Regions from separate parts of the Homo sapiens genome. Here region 1 is linked to region 2. Evidence: promoter capture Hi-C in human tissues and cell types (Jung and others, 2019). All regions are on one chromosome and are shown on one strand. The core of a region is centred on a gene start or on the middle of the fragment in contact, and the rest is flanking DNA. Distances in the headings are between cores, read along the strand shown.

What was found. The method cuts DNA at HindIII sites, captures the fragments that hold promoters and counts their contacts. A contact is called where the count stands out against the background at its distance.
Region 1: a contact is called between a fragment that was not itself captured here and the fragment with the promoter of CTNNBIP1 in region 2, in 1 of the 25 tissues and cell types used here (aorta).

The regions. Positions count from the first base shown.
Region 1 is chr1:10,163,945-10,169,903 of GRCh38, forward strand. UBE4B (ubiquitination factor E4B) reads left to right here. Exons shown (of 28, transcript NM_001105562.3): 24 at 4,192-4,326. Among named protein-coding and RNA genes, the nearest start is that of KIF1B, 44 kb to the right of the region's middle. The HindIII fragment of the contact is 8,579 bases long and covers 1-5,959 here.
Region 2 is chr1:9,907,447-9,913,295 of GRCh38, forward strand. It overlaps CTNNBIP1 (catenin beta interacting protein 1), which reads right to left and starts at 2,823. Exons shown (of 6, transcript NM_020248.3): 1 at 2,649-2,823. RefSeq lists silencers at 2,371-2,430, 2,601-2,660, 2,671-3,270 and enhancers at 3,418-4,091, 4,092-4,764. The HindIII fragment of the contact is 11,728 bases long and covers 1-5,849 here.

The DNA of each region.
Region 1 (5,959 bases), core at 2,787-5,286, 260 kb after region 2:
TTGAACTCCTGGCCTCAAGCAATCCACCCACCTCAGCCTCCCAAAGTGCGGGGGTTACAGACATGAGCCACCATGCCCAGCCTTATTATTATTTTTTAATAGAAACAGAGTCTTGACCGGGCACAGTGGCTCATGCCTGTAATATCAGCACTTTGGGAGGCCGAGGCCGGCAGATCACCTGAGGCCAGGAGTTTGAGACCAGCCTGGCCAACATGGTGAAACCCAGTGTCTACTAAAAATACAAAATTTAGCCAGGCATGGTGACAGGTGCCTGTAATCCCAGCTATTTGGAAGGCTGAGGTGGGAGAATCACTTGAACCCAGGAGGCAGAGGTTGCAGTGAGCTGATACCATGCCACTACATTTCACATTTCAGCCTGGGCAACAGAGCGAGACTCCGTCTCAAAAAAGAAAAAAAAAAAGAAAGAAAGAGTCTTGCTCTGTCACCCAGGCTGGAGTGCAATGACAGATCTTAGCTCACTACAGCCTACAACCTCCTGGCCTCAAGCAGTCCTCCCACCTCAGCCTCCCAAAATGCTGGGATTATAGTTGTGAGCCACCATGGCTGGCCAGCGTATATTTTAGATGTTGGAATGCAGGTCTATAGCACATTCTCGTATTCATAGTCAGTACTTAATAGCATTTGTTTATGAGCCAACTGAACAAATAATATTGATTTTTCCTGTGTTAATGGATGAAAAAGGCCCAAATAATTCCCACAATTGCTATTTCAGAAATAATTTTTATTTGGCTTTGAAGTCACTTTCTACCTCCCACTGCCCTGGCTGTTCCTGCTCATCTCCCTGACGTCTGAGCTTGGTGAGCTCCAGCACTCAGCCCTTAGGCTTCAATTTCTTTCCCACTCATGCTCTCTAGGTTAGTGTTTCTCAACGAGGGCACTAGTTGGAATTTTGAGCCTAGTGGAATTTGGTATAATAATAACTCATGATGAGAAACCATCCCATATATTGCAGGACATTTAGGATCTCTGTTTCCTGCCATTTAATGTCAGGGATGTACCCTCCTACCCCCAGCCTTCAGGCAACGAGAAACACTGCCACACATAACCTGATGTCCCCCGGTGAACATCACTGCTTGGTGAGCTCAGGTATACCAAGGCATTAAATACCTGTGTTCTAAAGACTCCAGAATATATCTCCCTGGCTCAGATCTGACTGCAGACTTGCAGACCAAGTATTTGTCTAATCAGTGTCTCAAACTCACTGTGTCCAAAACGGAACCCTTGATGTTGTCCACATCTCCTGCCTGAGTCTGCCCAATCTCAGTAAATGGCGCCTTCATTCTACCAGCTGCTCAGGCTCGATGCTTTGGAGTTGCTCTTGATTTCTCTGCGTCTCTCAGCAAATGCCTCTAAGCTCTGTCTTAAAATATATCCATTATCTGACCTCTTCTCAGCACCTCCAGACCGTTGGCATCTCTTACCTGGGTTATTGCAGTAGCCCACTGCTTGGTCTTCAACCTCCACTCTTGAGCATGTCCATATCAGGGATGGTGTTAAACATCTCAGTCTGATCAACATCACCACTCAGCTCAGCCATTTTGGGCTTCCCTTATCACTCAGAGCCAAATCCTGTGGTGAGAGCAGCCTACAGCACGCAGGAGGACCTGGCCCCACAATGTGTTTCTGCTCTCAGCTTTGGACAGTCTCTTCTCCACTCACTCTACCCCAGCCAGACTCACCTCCTGGCCCTTCCACTGACACGTGAGGGCCTTTACACCTGCTCTTCCCCCTACCTGGAATGCTCTTCCCTCAGATTTTCCGACTCCTTCAGATATACCCTCCCTCAGGGATACCTTCCCTGACCACCCTTTCCAGAATAGCATTCCCTGACTCCTGACCCTGCTTCATTTTTCCTCATCACTGTCAGACTTACTGTGTGTCTGTCTGGGTATTTGTTTCTATGAAGCAGATCCTCCCTAACGGAATCTAAGCTGCATGAGAGCTGGGAGCCTTTTTATTCTATCTCCAGTGCCCAAAGGCTGTAGAAGGGCCTGTTGAGACACCCAGGTACACATTTAGGTAGTTCACGCCTGGCTGTTCTTGTGTCTTTCCTGGCTCTGCCTTTCTTTCAGTAGGCTCATTCTTGACCAGGGAACGGCAGGCCCCCCAGTATCCCTGCAGAATCTCCATCAAGCACAGACTGGAGCACTTTCCCAGAGGGCACTCACCGGCCAGCTTCAGCTCTGCCAGCTGTGTTCCTTTCCCAACAAGAAAAGGCCTCTGAACAGATGTAAGAATTGAGGCTTTTCCTGATGGGTCTGTGTTTGACCCATTTCAGAGCCTGCAGTGCAGTACCTGATTGTATCCATGAGTCAAACAGCTCTTATTATCTCCTCCCCAGCCCATGGCAGAGTTGAAGGAGGAAAGTGCGCCAGAGGTAAGCGTGCTGACAGTTCTGTGGTGTGACAGCCTCACAGTTTGGAAAGACAAAATTTTAAAAGCTTAGTAGTCCACAGGCACTTGTAGAGGCAGAGAGGCAGACCCGATAGGCCTCAATACGGTGGCACACTGCATCTCATAGTTTTAAAATAATGAAGACTGGCTGAGCACGGTGGCTTACACTTGTAATCCCAGCACTTTGGGAGGCCTAGGTGGGCAGATCAGTTGAGGTCAGGAGTTTGAGACCAGCCTGATCAACATAGTGAAACCCCATCTCTACTAAAAATACAAAAATTAGGCCAGGCGCATTGGCTCACGCCTGTAATCCCAGCTCTTTGGGAGGTTGAAGTGGATGGATCACCTGAGGTCAGGAGTTCAAGACCAGCCTGGCCAACATGGCGAAACCCCAATCTTTACCAAAAATACAAAAATTAGTCAAGCATGGTGGCACGCACGTGTAATCCCAGCTACTCAGGAGGCTGAGGCAGGAGAATGGCTCGAACCCGGGAGGCAGAGATTGCAGTGAGCCAAGATCGCGCCACTGCACTCCAGCCTGGGCAACAGAGTGAGACCCTGTCTCAAAAAAAATAAATAAATCACACACACACACACACACACACACACACAAAAAAAAAAAATTAGCTGGGCATGGTGGTCCACTCCTGTAATCCCAGCTACTTGGGAGGCTGAGACATGAGAATCACTTGAACCTGGGAGGCGGAGGTTACAGTGAGCCGAGATTGTGCCACTGCACTCTAGCCTGGGTGACAGAGGAAGACTCCATCTCAAAAAAAAATAACAATAATAATAGAGGGCCGGGCACGGTGGCTTACGCCTGTAATCCCAACACTTCGGGAGGCCAAGGCAGGCTGATCACCTGACGTCAGGAGTTCGAGACCAGCCTGACCAACATGGAGAAACCCCGTCTCTACTAAAAATACAGAATTAGCCGGGCATGGTGACACATGCCTGTAGTCCCAGCTACTCGGGATGCTGAGGCAGAAGAATCACTTGAACCTGGGAGGCGGAGGTTCCGGTGAGCCGAGATCGCGCCATTGCACTCCAGCCTGGGCAACAAGCGAAACTCCGTCTCAAAAAATAATAATAATAATAATAATAATAATAATAATGACTAAGTAAAAGTTATTATTAAGGGAAATAAACTACCCTTTCTTAGTGCCATGATGTGTGTCAGATACTATGTTCCATTATCTTATTTCATCCTGAATAGAAGTTGATGGTGACTTTTTTTTTTTTTTTTTTTTTTGAGACGGAGTCTCACTCTGTCACTAGGCTGGAGTACAGTGGCGCGATCTCAGCTCACTGCAGCCTCAGCCTTCTGGGTTCAAGCAGTTCTCCTGCCTCAGCCTCCCAAGTAGCTGGGACTACAGCCACGCACCACCACCCCCAGCTAATTTTTGTATTTTTAGTAGCGACGGGGTTTCACCATGTTGGCCAGGGTGGTCTCGATCTCGACCTCGTGATTCGCCCACCTTGGCTTCGCAAAGTGCTGGGATTACACGCGTGAGCCACCACGCCCGGCAGATGGTGACTTCTTTTATCATTGAGGAAGCAGAGTTAAATAAGGCACCAACATCACCTGGCTGGAAGTCTCAAAGAGCTCCGATGCTGAAAGGATGAAACTTCAGTTATCTGGGACATGTGGCAGGCGGTTCTGTCATTCCCTAAGCATGTTGGGTTTATCACGCACTTTCCAGTTATGTGCTTGGCGCTTTGCTGAGCTGATGACCAGGACCGAGCCTTACTCAGCGTCTGTTCGATGTGTCCTAGGATCAGCAGCAGGCTCGTCAGTCTCAGCTTGCTCAGGATGAGCGTGTGTCCCGCTCTTACCTCGCCCTGGCCACCGAAACCGTGGACATGTTCCACATCCTCACGAAGCAGGTCCAGAAGCCCTTCCTCAGACCGGTGAGTAGAAACCCGGGGCTCTGTTTGGTGGTTTGGACTCCACATTCAGACTCTCTCACTTATAACTTTAGCAGTTGTTGAAGTTCTGGAAATTTTAGGATCACAGTCATCAATAAGTGAAATTCTGTGACTGATTTTGTTCCCAGTTATGCTAATTGATACCAGACTCTGTTGATGGACTGAAGAGCAGATGTCTGATGTCACCACATAGTCTACAGCCACTTCCAAATGCCTTACTGCACTTTGTGCTTAGACAGTACATTGGATTATTCATGTTGATGTCATGACATATTTTTACCATTATTGATTCCTATATTTTACTTATAGAAAAAGCATAAGGTGCCGGGTGCGGTGGCTCACGCCTGTAATCCCAGCACTTTGGGAGCCCAAGGCGGGCAGATCACGAGGTCAGGAGATGGAGACCATCCTGGCTAACACAGTGAAACCCCATCTCTACTAAAAGTACAAAAAATTAGCTGGGCGTGGTGGTGGGCACCTGTAGTCCCAGCTACTCAGGAGGCTGAGGCAGGAGAATGGCGTGAACCCGGGAGGCAGAGCTGGCAGTGAGCCGAGATGGTGCCACTGCACTCCAGCCTGGGCGACAGAGTGAGACTCCATCTCAAAAAAAAAAAAAAAAGAAGAAGAAAAAGCATAAGGTAACAGCTGTTGACAATGGAAGGATATTAAGTAGAATAATTGAGACCGTGTAAAATCTTTGGCTCTCTTAGCTGTACCTTTGTTACACTCAGGAAGCCAAAGGTTAATGGGAGCCGGCCATCACTAGGGTTTATGGTGGATTGCAAATAGTCAGAATGTTTGTTCTCAACTAGTAAGACCTGGTTCCTATTTCTAAAATTGAAACTGAGCAGCATCACTGAAGATTTCTGCCCTGCTTCAGCCACCCCCACCACAAAGTTGAAAAGTTTTATGGTGTGGCCAGGACAAGGGTAGTGAGGAAGGCAAGACGGGGACCTAAGATTCGGTAGCCATTTGCCTATGTGGAGACATGTTTACTTTACAATGGAATATGACGTTACTGCATATTTCCCCTGATTTTCTGTATTTGCTCTTACCTTCGTTATGTGACTCTCTGTTATGTGACTCCTGTCATCAGCAGAGGCACTATTGCCACTCCCTGGCCTGGGGACAACTCTTTTCCACTCTTTTAACTTTCCACCTCATGTCTCTTCATAAACAGATTTCAGTGCAAGAGCCATGGAACACGAAACAAAACAGCTCAGACACTGGCCTCCCTTAAAAGTTTGCAAAGTGCAAGGCCATGGAGCATGAAACAAAACAGCTCACTGGCCAGACACTGGCCTCCCTTCAAGGTTTGCAGAATTCTGTGAAGGCCAGATAGTAAATAGTTGATTAATTCCTTTGTAACAAGGTCAACACCCACCTATTTTGTACACTTGTTGGGAAGACTAAGCGAAAACACACATAGAAGTACCTGGCATAAGGCCAAGCACGGTGGCTCATGCCTGTAATCCCAGCACTTTGAGAGGCCAAGAAGGGTGGATCACCTGAGGTCAGGAGTTCCAGACCAGCCTGGCCAACATGGCGAAACCCCGTCTCTACTAAAAATACAAAAATTAGCCAGGCGTGGTAGTGCATGCCTGTAATCCCAGCT
Region 2 (5,849 bases), core at 1,573-4,072:
CAGGGGTGAGCCACTGCACCTGGCCTCATTCTCATTAATAGCTCAAGTTTGTGGCCACTGAAACATTCTCCTACCTACCATGAGAACAGGCCCAATTTCCTGGTGCAACATCTTCCAACAGTGGCAGTAATGTTCCCATTTAAACAATACAACCGGATGTGGGAATGAAACCCAGTGTATTATGCCCTCCTCCACCTCTAACTGGTTTTTAAACCCACAAACCCTCTCCAATCAAGGAGGCGGGGACCTGTTCTGTGAGCACGTTGTTATGGGACATCTAACTCTCAGTCTCCAAAGTTTTGCTTTGCAGCTCTCCCAGAGGGAACAGACTGATTCCACCTCTTCGTTTCCACTGCCACTGCCCCGATCCCTCAAGCCACCATCATCTCTTGCCAGGCAGCTGCAATAGTCTGTCTCATAACTGGTATTCCTGCCTCCACCTTTGCTCCTTAGAATCCAGTCTCTACACAGTGGCCAGAACAATCTTTTGGAACAAATCAGACTTTATTCTTTCTCTGCTTAAAACCCTCCAATGGCCTCTAACTGTTCTTGGAATAAAATCCAAACTCTTTATTACGACCTACAAAATCTTTGTTTTGATCTACAGGTTCTTTTTCTCCACCCCCGCCCAAGACGGAGTTTTGCTCTGTTGCCCAGGCTGGAGTGCAGTGGCGCAATCTCGGCTCACCGCAACCTCCGCCTCCCAGGTTCAGGAAATTCTCCTGCCTCAGCCTCCCAAGTAGCTGGGACTACAGGCATGCACCACCACGCTCAGCTAATTTTTGTATTTTTAGTAGAGACAGGGTTTCACCATGTTGGTCAGGATGGTCTCGAACTCCTGACCTCGTGATCTGCCCGCCTTGGCCTCCCAAAGTGCTGGGATTACAGGCATGAACCACTGAGTCCGCCCTGATCCACAGATTCTTTTTTTTTTTTTTTTTTTTTGAGACGGAGTCTCGCTCTGTCGCCCAGACTGGAGTGCAGTGGCGTGACCTCGGCTCACTGCAAGTTCCACCTCCCGGGTTCACGCCATTCTCCTGCCTCAGCCTCTCCGAGTAGCTGGGACTACAGGTGCCCACCACCACGCCCAGCTAATTTTTTGTATTTGTAGTAGATATGGGGTTTCACCGTGGTCTCGATCTCCTAACCTCGTGATCCGCCCGCCTCGGCCTCCCAAAGTGCTGGGACTACAAGCGTGAGCCACCGCGCCCGGCCACAGATTCTTATATGTAATCTGGCCCCTCTCCATCTTCATAGCACTTACCACTACTGAAATTATTTTGTCCACTTGTTTGTTTACTCACTTATTGTCTGACTTTCCTCCTCTTTAAAATGTCATCTCTGAGGAGGGCAGAAACCGTGTCTGTCTTCACCACTAAAGCCCCAGTACTTGGAACGGTGCCTGGCACATAGTAAATGCTCACTACTGAATGAATGAATCTCCATCCCATAGAGGTGATTTGTATTTACAAGGGAGGACCACGAACTCCCCCAGCAAACCGTGAATGACACATTGGCATTTAACAGCCCGCACCTTTATTTATGATCCAAAGTCCTACTTTAAATCTGAGGAAGCTGCTGGTATCTCTGGACATTTTAATGGCACAAGAGATCAGTTATCACTTGGGGACACACTCCAGGAACTGGAGCCCAGTGGTTGTAGCAGGGAGCTAAGAGCCAAGGCTCCTGCGAACAGAACTTCAAGACAAACCATGACTTGCCTCCAGGTCCCTTACCCACACACCCTGTACCTCAATTTACCCAGCAGTTGGCCAGACATGTTCCTCTCAGTTCTGTGAGTGACAGGAGACAAAATAATTCACAGCTGGAGCATACTGAGATCCTCAGACAGGAGGTGGTGCAAGCCACACGTCTCATTATTCATAAAACTCTTGATTTGCGGCCAACACGGCCCCCGCCGCCTTCCCAGGGGCTAACCTGACAACAGGCACTGCTCAGACAAGTTCAGCTCACAAGGCAGAGGGAGGGATGGAGGGCCTAGCAGAGGCTGGGTGTCCAGACCTGAGTGTCTCGGTTACCAGGTTCCAAAAAAAGGAAGGTGGTTGGGGTGGGGTGATGAAAAGGAGGTGAGAGGTGCAGTTTGGGGCTCCAGGTGGTTAATTTTGCAGGTTCGTGCATACACGCCCGCCATCCAGGTGAGATATGTGCCCCCACCAGGTACCTTCCAGGAAGGCTCACCGGGGAGGGGTGGAATCGGGAGACGACAGTTCAATCAAACTACAGAGGGAGGAAGGGCGGCCCAGCGTTTAGTTTGGGGAAATATGGAGAGTAAGAGTCTCAGAGTGGGCGCAGGTGAGGGAAGAGGCAGGGGCCCAGAGGTCGGGAGGGCGGACGGGCGATGACAGGCACCCGGACGCGGTGAGGTGAGCAACAAGGTGGGCGGCGCGGACACCTGTGGAGGCGACCCCCGGGCGAAGAGTCAGGGAGGCGGGAGGTGGTCTGCGGCGAGAGGCGGCCAGGCCCAGACCAGGGCGCCGCGCCGCTGGGGCAGTCAGGGGTCCGAGCGGGGTCGGGGGCGCTCTCCGCGGCCCCTCCCCGGCAGACAAAGGGCTGGCCGCTCCCCCAAGCCCCGGCGCGGCGCGGCGCGGGCCCGGGCGGTGCAGGCGCGGCCCGGCCTCGGCGCTTACCTGGGCCGCCCGACCCGGCCGGGCCGGCAGGGGCAGCGGGTCCGGCGCGCAGCGCGCGGCGGCCTGTTCCGGGGCGTGCTCAGCCCGAGCAGCCGCTGCGGCGGCGGCAGTAGCAGCAGCAGGAGCGGCCGCCTCAGCCTCCGCCTCCCGCTCCGAGAGTCACCGCGGTGGGGAGGGAGGGAGGCGCCAGGCCGCCGGGGGAGGGACCGGCGGAGGGGGCGGCATCTGGCTCCGCGCGGGCTGCTGAGGCGCGGCGGCGGCAACGCCCCGGAGGGAGGCGGGCGCGTGGGGCCGGGCGCCGGGGCGGGGCCTGCGGGCGGGGCGGGGCCCGGGGCCGCGAATTGGTTAACTCAGCCTGTGGGCGGGGCTGCGCGGTGCGGGGCGGGGCCTTGTGGCGCATGTGAACGCTCATTGGGCCCTCCTGGAAGGGGGCGAGACCAGCGACATAGGGACGGGGCCATGCGGTGGGCGGGTGGAACACGGCGCCGGTAGTGAGTGGCCGAGTCCGCGCTGAGAGCAAAGGGGAGGAGCGGGCCGGGGGTGAGCAGGGAAGGCGGGTTGGGCGCGAGGAGGAGGCGGTGGCCTGGAGGAGGAGCCGGGTAAGGCTGAAGCTGGCGCTGCGGTAAAGCCACTCTGCGTGTCCCTATCTGCTCCAGGAGCACAGTGTTCCGGAAAAATAATGGCCTCTCCCACACACCGGTCTGTGTTTAAAAACGGGAGCAACAAGACGGGGCAGAATCCTTGGTGAGGCCAGTTTACCCAGAACCCCGGAAAATTCTGAAATGGACGAGGTTGCAGAACATTTAGAGGCGTGGTCTTCCTGCGTCGTTGAGCTGGGAACGTTGCTACCTCTGAGCTTGGGGCCTAACCTGGGATTAACCTAGCCCAGAGAGCCCAGGGATGGGCCTCCGTAGGTCCATTAAACTCAGAAGGTCGTGTGTACTGGTAGTGAGTGGATTTTTCGGGGGAAGGGTGCCCATGATTAAAATGTTTCTACAGAAAGTCTGGCTGTATTTGGAGAGGGTACAGGGAGAAGCAGCCCATTTTAGGTAAAATGCAAATTGCTTTTAACATCCGCCTTCCTTTTAAAGGGACCTGTATCTTTAAGTGTGGTCTCATTTTCAGCAGTTTAAATTATCAGTTACACAGTGTGACACTAACCCCAGTTCAGAAGCCCTCCTACCCTACTCCTCCCACAGCCTTTCTTTTTACACCTTTTCTGTACCATCCTCTTCCACTCCACATTTCTTCCCCTTCCCTATGCAAAAAGAATACGAAGTCCTTTTTTGTTTGTTCGTTTATAATATAATATCCACATTACTCTTTACTCATTTGGGGGGTTTTTTTGTTTTTGAGAGGGAGTCTCGCTCTGTCGCCCAGGCTCAGGTGCAGTGGCGCGATCTTGGCTCACCGCAACCTCCGCTTCCCGGGTTCAAGCGATTCTCCTGCCTCAGCCTCCTGAGTAGATGGGATTACCGGCATGCGCCCCGGCTAATTTTTGTATTTTTAGTAGAGACGGGTTTTCTCTATGTTGGCCAGGCTGGTCTCCAACTTCTGACCCCAAGTGGTCTGCCCGCCTCGGCCTCCCAAAATGCTAGGATTACAGGCCTGAGACACCGCACCCGGCCTGCTCACACTTTTTCATACTTAATAGGTCCCCGGCCGGGCGCAGTGGCTCATGCCTGTAATCTCAGCACTTTGGGAGGCCAAGGCAGACAGATCACCTGAGGTCGGGAGTTGGAGACCAGCCTGACCAACATGAAGAAACCCCGTCTCTACTAAAAATACAAAAATTAGCCGGGCGTGGTGGCGCATGCCTGTAATCCCAGCTACTCAGGAGACTGAGGCAGGAAAATCGCTTGAACCCGGGAGGCGAGGGTGCAGTGAGCCGAGATTGCGCCATTGCACTCCAGCCTGGGCAACAAGAGCGAAACTCTGTCTGAAAAAAAAAAAAAAAAAAAAATTGGTCCCCAAGTGGGTTTCTCCTACAGTGTCCCCACCTTCAGTAACTGGCACCACTCTCTACCCAGTTGCTTACACCAGACACTTAAATTGTACCGTTGACACCACTCTTTCCTTTATTCTTCATTTCCAGTCCATGTTGTTTCCAATTCTAAATGGTGTCCTTAATCTCTCCACCTCCTACCATCTCTACCCCTCTTTCCCAGTTTAACCTGCCACCAGCTATCACCTTGACTCCTGCAATAACCCTTCAAGCAGTCTCTCCTTTAGGCTCTCCTTACGCCCCCATTCACTGCCCACACAGCAACTAAAGGAAACTTCTTAAAATCTTGTCAGACCTGCGCTATTCAACGACTTCTCTTCATTTTCACGAGGAAGTTCAAAGTCCTTAGTGTGGCAACAAGGCCTTACAGGATCTGGCTACAGCCTGATCTTGAACCACTTTTGCCAACTGGGCTCTAGCCACATATGGGCCTTGTGCCTGTTCCTTGATCACAGGGAGCTCTTTTGTGCTTCAGGTCTTCTGATTGCGCTGTTCCCTTGGCCTCAATGGCTCTTTTCCGATTTCTCCCCACTTCACCTGCCTGAATACTTGGTCTACTTCCGGGAGACCTCTTAATGGATGCTAGCCCTAGTCCCACAGCATGGCTATAAACTCCAGGAGGGCAAGGACCATGCCACCAAGCACAATACCTGTATCCACAAATATTACTGCAGGAACAAACTGAATGTGTAAATACTCCATCCAGGACTTTCCCTTCCATCGGCCGGCCAGCCACTCCTACTCCCCGCCTCCGACCCCCAGGGCTATCAGCCTTCTCCTCCTTACTCTTCTCTCACTGCATTTATGGTTCGATATTTTCTCCTTTCAGCTCTGGAGAGGGCCTCCGTGTGGTCCCAGAACATATATTAGGTATCTTTTTTTTCTTTTTTTTGAGATGGGGTCTCAGTCTGTTGCCCAGGCTGGAGCACAGTGGTGCAATCTTGGCTCACTGAAACCTCCACCTCCTGGATTCAAGTGATTCTCCTGCTCAGCCTCCTGAGTAGCTGGGATTACAGGCACCCGCCACCATGCCCAGCTAATTTTTTGTATTTTTAGTAGAGACGGGGCTTCACCATGTTGGCCAGGCTGGTCTCGAACTCCTGACCTCAAGTGATCTGTTGGCCTCAGCCTCCCAAAGTGCTGGGACTACAGCTGTGAGCCACCATGCTGGCCTATTATGTATCTTTAAATAGTTG